2 separate regions of the Homo sapiens genome follow, and region 1 is linked to region 2. The links are contacts of gene promoters, found by promoter capture Hi-C in blood cells and fetal thymus (Javierre and others, 2016). All regions are on one chromosome and are shown on one strand. The core of a region is centred on a gene start or on the middle of the fragment in contact, and the rest is flanking DNA. Distances in the headings are between cores, read along the strand shown. Region 1 overlaps LOC124906110 (a long non-coding RNA gene). Region 2 holds the start of OSGEPL1-AS1 (OSGEPL1 antisense RNA 1).

The links. Contacts are between HindIII fragments. The CHiCAGO score rates a contact against its expected background, and 5 or more counts as called.
Region 1: a contact is called between a fragment that was not itself captured here and the fragment with the promoter of OSGEPL1-AS1 in region 2, in 1 of 17 cell types (total B cells). The highest score is 7.2, in total B cells.

What each region holds. Positions count from the first base shown.
Region 1 is chr2:190,876,939-190,880,272 of GRCh38, reverse strand. It overlaps LOC124906110 (a long non-coding RNA gene), which reads left to right. Exons shown (of 2, transcript XR_007087791.1): 2 at 1-3,334. Among named protein-coding and RNA genes, the nearest start is that of GLS, 2.2 kb to the left of the region's middle. RefSeq lists an enhancer at 1-64. The HindIII fragment of the contact is 2,674 bases long and covers 1-2,636 here.
Region 2 is chr2:189,761,450-189,764,609 of GRCh38, reverse strand. It overlaps OSGEPL1-AS1 (OSGEPL1 antisense RNA 1), which reads right to left and starts at 1,830. Exons shown (of 2, transcript NR_102429.1): 1 at 1,618-1,830. OSGEPL1 (O-sialoglycoprotein endopeptidase like 1) reads left to right here and starts at 1,818. Exons shown (of 9, transcript NM_022353.3): 1 at 1,818-1,925; 2 at 2,950-3,160. The coding sequence starts at 2,970. It also overlaps a transcript of ANKAR not described here and a transcript of ORMDL1 not described here. RefSeq lists enhancers at 1,143-1,889, 2,176-2,335. The HindIII fragment of the contact is 3,776 bases long and covers 1,743-3,160 here.

The sequences.
Region 1 (3,334 bases), core at 50-2,549, 1.1 Mb before region 2:
CCATGATTGGCTACTACCCAGACGTGAAGTGTTTTGGAAAAAATGAGCAAAATCCTTTCAGCTATGCGACTTAAGCCATGGGAGGGTGGAGGTGGAGGGAGGGCGACGAGTGGCGAGGCGGGGTGGGGGGGTTGCGGAATCCAGAATACGACAGCTTTCTTTTTTAAAAATTATTTTTTTTAAATGTACACCGATACTTCAAAAATAGTTTTGAATAGCAATGATTCCGTTAACGCTATTTGCTTGAAAGCAAAACTGTAGATACTTTTCTATTTTAAAAACTGCTTCACTGTTTTAAAATAGAAGCGTTGGAATACGGGTTCTCTAAGTTATTTCAGCATCACTTTATCCATTTATCCTTTTGGACCTGTGGAAAAACAGCCAAGAACCTGATAAACTGAGTTATTCCCTGAGGCTACATACACATTACATTCCAGGACAAAAAAATGTTTTTAGACTATTTCCTGAAACAATTAGGTTTAAATGGAGTAGATCCACAGAGTTTAATAAGATGTTTTGGGGGTTGGTGTGTTGTTACTGTGTTGTTGTGTGTGTTCGTTTTGAGAAAGGGTCTCACTCTGTCGCCCAGGCTGAAGTGCAGTGGCGCGATCACGGCTTACTGCAGCCTTGAACTCAGGGGCCCCGGTGATCCTCCCACCTCAGCCAGCACCTGCTTTTTTTTTTTTTTTTTTTTGTATTTTTGGTAGAGACGGGGTTTCGCCAGGTTGCCCAGGCTGGTTTCGAGGGATCTGCACCCCCTGGGCCTCCCAAATTGCTGGGATTACAGGCGTGAGCCACCACGCCCGGCCTAATGAGGTGATTTTTATGAAACTAGAAGGGTGTATGTCAGGTGCATCATTAATTGATAACCGGATTTAGTAATCTAGTGAACTGTAAAATATTTCAATAGATTAATAATTAGGAAATCTGGCTGTACCTACAGGTTATGTGACCTTTGGCATGTTACAGCCTTGCCGTGTTTTAAGTTTTTTTTTTCTATCTGCTCTTTAACCAGAAGAACATGGAAAAAACTATCATGTGTAAAACATAGTCACCTTTTTTATTTAAAAAAAAAAAAGCAGGACAATGGGAAAGTACTTAGATAGCTTTTATTACTAATGTTACTTGTCCAAAAATGTTGATGAATCAAAGTAATGATATATTCAGGAATAGAGACATCAAGTTTCAGAGGAAAGGTAACAAATATTACCCCTGCCTAACCCTGACTTGTTAATGACTTGCAGACTTTAATATTGTCCAATATATTAGCTGCAATTAGTTATCAATTTTAACTGCCTCTTTTTTCTCAACAACACAAAGCAACTGACAATCCAGTTACTGTTTTCCTCTCAGTTTCTCCCTTAATTTCTCTGAGTTTCTTATGAAAATTGTTTTAGATATTTAAAGGTTTAAAGGCTTTATAGTTCACTTAACAAATAAGAAAGCTAACCTAGTAACAGATTATTTTCTAGAGTTTCTAGTTTCTAGAGTTTTATTTTCTGGTAGTTTCCAGACTTTCTGCTTTTGGTGAGAATGGATAGATATTACTCCCAAAATTTGGAAGAATTGAGTCCACTGAAATTTAACCCCTTGTTTGAGAAGGCTAATGAAAAGGTTATAGACAGCAAAGAAACTATTATAAATAGAATAAAAATGTGACTCAATACTTTCATTTGATTCTTTTCTTCATCTTATATAATTTTTTAATCTTTAAAGATATTTTTATCTACAACTTTGTAACCATTACACAACTTTGAAGTTTCAGTTATGTTAAATTGAATTATATCATTACATAAACTCATGTAATCATCATGTAAAAAGTATAAAAACATTTGTATACATACAATAAGTAGTCCACCAAAATATCTACAAATAGAAAAATGCTCTCCACATTAACTATGGTTGGGTTGTCAGATCTACTCTTCGACTTCCTTTTTGCTCCTAAGTGCAGCTACACTACAAAGAGTTGCTGTCCCATAGCCATCATCAGGTAATCAGCCATCAAAAGGAATAATTGGAATTTGTGCACTTTGTGTCTGTTCTAACTTGAAGAAAGGTTCCTGTGCTTCTATGTTCCTGAGCTTCTTTGTTCTGTCGAAGATTACAAAAGGCTAATGTTTCAAGATCATAATAAAATCCATATATAGGCCGGGCGCGGTGGACTCACACCTGTAATCCCAGCACTTTGGGAGGCTGAGGCGAGCAGATCACAAGGTCAGGAGATTGAGACCATCCTGGCTAACACGGTTAAACCCCATCTCTACTAAAAATACAACGATTAGCTGGGCGTGGTGGCACACACCTGTAATCCCAGCTACTTGGGAGGCTGAGGCAGGAGAATCACTCAAACCTGGGAGGCCGAGGTTACAGTGAGCCAAGATCGCACCACTGCACTCCAGCCTGGCAACAGAGCGATACTACATCTCAAAAAATAAAATAAAATAAGATAAAATAATATATATATATAGAAATTCCAGATTGCGCCTTCACAAAAACTAGTAGATTATTTGTTGACCTAGAACTAAAAAGAAAGTAATTTTCCTTTGACTAACAGCTTAAAAGAATTGCCTAAGCCTTTTTTTGAAATTCTTCTGTTTGGAGAATAGAGTAAGGTTCAGGAAGCCTCTAAACAAGCTTCTGCTACTACTTCCCTTTCTTCTGTTGGTTTCCTGCTTTAACTGGCCAAATTCCTAGCCTCACTGATAAGCCCTGCCAAACATGGCTTATTTTTCCAATACTGAATATAGATGTGTACCAAAGTAAGTATGGTAAATCCCTCATCTATAAAAAGGGGATAATATGGCCAGGCAAGGTGGCTCACGCCTGTAATCCCAGCACTTTGGGAGGCCGAAGCAGGTGGATCACCTGAGGTCAGGAGTTCAAGACCAGCCTGGCCAACATGGTGAAACCCCATCTCTACTAGAAATTCAAAAAATTAGCCAGGCATGGTGGTGCATGCCTGTAATCCCAGCTACTCGGGAGGCTGAGGCAGGAGAATTGCTTGAACCTGGGAGGCAGAGGTTGCAGTGAGCCGAGATCTAGCCATTGCACTCCAGCCTGGGCTATGAGAGAGCAAGACTCCATCTCAAAAAAACAAAGGGGGGCGGATAATATTGGTACTTATAGGGTTGTTGTGTGGAATAAATAAACAACACATATAAAGCACCCAGAATAATGACAGTAGCACTCTGTAAGTGTTATAGCTGTTATTATCAAACCATAGGTGAATAAATTTTGACATGCAATGTGATCAGTTTTTACACTTATTGTTGAAAAGCCAAACAATTGTTTTAAACCATCTAATAATAAAATACCATTTAAGGGGAACCTAGAG
Region 2 (3,160 bases), core at 581-3,080:
TGCCTTTCCCCCAATAACCCTCTCCTATGTTACAATAGAGAACATAAAAAATGTATATCTTTGCTAAATACATGGGACTTGTATAAGTGCCACTTTACATATATTCGGTCAAGGGAAAGATAAAATTCCATACTAATGTGCCCTAGAGTTCTCCTGTTTCACATAATAACAGCATTCGGACTCAACACTGGCCAAGAGTGCCTAGACGAGGAATCTACCAATGATAGCACACACAATAGGATCTTGCTTGTCTTGACAGCACAGAAGAGCATTGGGATATACTTGCTGAACATAATTGGAATTGTAAGAAAAATAATACCTGATGTGAAAGGTTTTATGTTCAAACTGGATTCCAGTGTATAACAGAAATAAGCTCTGACCTCTCTAACCGTATGACTAATTTTTCTTAACTTTTAGGTTTTAATTTTTCTTTTTTCCCTTGTTTAGGCCAACAGTGCACCCTAGAGAAAATGTGAGTTATTTTCTCTTCTAGCAGTTAAGAAAACAGACTCCAGTGCCAGATGTCCTGACTTCTAATCCTAGCTTTGCTTTTCCTAGTTGTGTGACCTCCAAAGCACCCAAACTCTGTGGCCCAGTTGCCTGTAAAATGAGGACAGAAACTATTTCATGGGATTTTGAAAGAAATTAATCTACAGCAGGTGCCTGGTACATAGTGCCACTTTATCATTATTGTTACACATAAATGAAATTTTTGAAAAACATAAGTTCCAAATAAAAAACCTCAACCATATTCTGGTAATTATTTACTTATTTATCTGTATCCACCTCTAGACTGTACTCTGTGGCTTCCCAACATGTTGTTATGGGATTTACTCATCTTTTATACCCAGAGCTTCACAACGTGCAAAGTGCAGGTATATATGCCAGCCCTGTACAACAGTGGATTCTAAGGTCCTTGCTTACTAAAATCTTAAATACCAGCAGGGGAAAAGCCTGACTCTTGGAATAAATCTGTCCAATGTTCAAAACAAAGTTCACAAACCAATAAAAGAAAAAAAAAAAAAAAAGCAGGTGCAAGACTTTGAAAACATACCATGCTGAATTTCATGTACATAGTAAGGAAGGACAACATAATGCATTATGAAAATAGGATGGTTTAAGGCAACTGAATATTTACCACAGCCTTTTTTTTTTTTTTTTTTTTTTTTTTGAGACAGAGTCTCGCTCTGTAGCTCAGGCTGGAGTGCAGTGGCGCGATCTCGGCTCACTGCTACCTCCGCCTCCCGGGTCCCAGTTCAAGCAGTTCTCCTGCCTCAGTCTCCCGATTTTTTTTTTTTTTAATTGTAAAAATAAGCCAGCCCCTTTCTTCCTAGTGAAGTGGGAGAAACGGTTTACACTGTCCGATGAGAAACACTTCCGTTCTTTGGTAACCCTGCTAGGGGGCGCCGCTAGATTCCATCCTATTTCTCCGATGAAAGTATCAGGTACCTCACCCCTAAGTTTAGATTTGATGATAGTTCCCTTAAAAATGAATGACGAATAATCTACCCCATCCTTTTCTCACAGTAGCAACCAAATTCCAGCCAAGGGCAAAAAAAAAATTTCTTTTTAATGTAGCTTAGTGTTTGGAACTTGATGTTGTGTAGTCAGACAAACCTGTATTCGGCCTCCGCTGGATCAGTCACTAGCTGTGTAATTTTACAGAACTCTCATCACCTGCAAATCTGGGGGAAATGCAGGTGCGCACAGAGAGCGTTTTGGGCAAAGACGGCCTTTAAGCTTTTCTTCACTAAGCATGCCGCTCGCTAGCGGAACAGCAGCCAGCTCTGGACGGGACCTTGCACAGTTCCGATGACATCACTTCCGGGCGCCAGGTTCGGGCTTTCTCCTGCAGCGATAAGGGCAGTCGACAGTCTTTAGTAGGGAAAGGAGACAAGTGCTAGCTACTGCCGCCCAAGTGGAAGGTGGGTGAAATTGCTCACTCTTCACCCCACTGACGCTTTTGCGCACCTGGAAAAGCGGTTCCAGTTTGCGCCCGTCGCCGCCTTACAGCCGACAGGAGACCAGCGCTACCCAAGTCACGTGGGTTCAGCCTGCAGCTTTCTTGGCCCGAAAGGGTAGTGCTTCGTACAATCCTCCTTGTCCAGATTTTGTTAATGCAAATCTAATTCCTCTAGGTTGTGTCTGTCTGGGCTGCACTGCCCGCAACTGCCTTCTGCAAATAGGTCGCTCATCTCTAATCCCTGGGATGCCGTGTCCCTTTAGTGTGGTGGAGAAAGGCCCTGCTTTAACACCCAGAAAGTTTTAGAACGGATGATCTGGGGGCATAAAATTAGGTGCTTCGCAGTGTGAAAATACTAGTGTGCTTTAGTGATGGGCTGCTATTATTTTGGGGGAAAAGGATTTGGGAAGATCCTTGTTATGACAAAACCTGTAGCAAAAAGTGGAGATTTAATTCCAAAGATTGCAATTAAGGATAAAATAGGTGTTAGGTTGCAGTTGGCGTGTGTGTGTTTATGTTAACTCTTGTTTTTGAACCAAATGATCCAGTTTTATTTTGAAAGATGTTTTTAGGAGATGGAATACATTAACAGTATTTTTATCTGTTCCATCTGCCTTTGTTGTTTGATTCTTTTTAGAAAATCCACATTTTGTCTTAATTTTAGCTGTCAAAAAATAAATAGCACTTTTCAGAGGACTCTATCAATTATTGTACTTTATATTAGCTGTCTTAATAGTAAGTCTTTTGGTAGGAACAGCATGCAAGTAATAATAATACTAAAAAATTTTATATCTGACCCCTGTTTTCCCCCTTGGAGAACATTATATTCATTCATAATATTATTTATATTCCCATGTTGCTATAGCCTTTACAAACTTTTGGTGACTTTTACAAACTTTCCTGTAATTCTGTAAAACTATATATTGAAAAATAAGCTGGCTAATGTCAGTTGCAAATAATAAGTTGTTTCTGTAATTCTTTTTCAGGAATTATCTATAGAGTAAGTATGCTAATCTTGACTAAGACTGCAGGAGTTTTTTTTAAACCATCAAAAAGGAAAGTTTATGAATTTTTAAGAAGTTTTAATTTTCATCCTGGAACACTATTTCTTCATAAAATAGTATTGGGAATTGAAACTAGTTGTGATGATACAGCAGCTGCTGTGGTGGATGAAACTGGAAATGTGTTGGGAGAAGC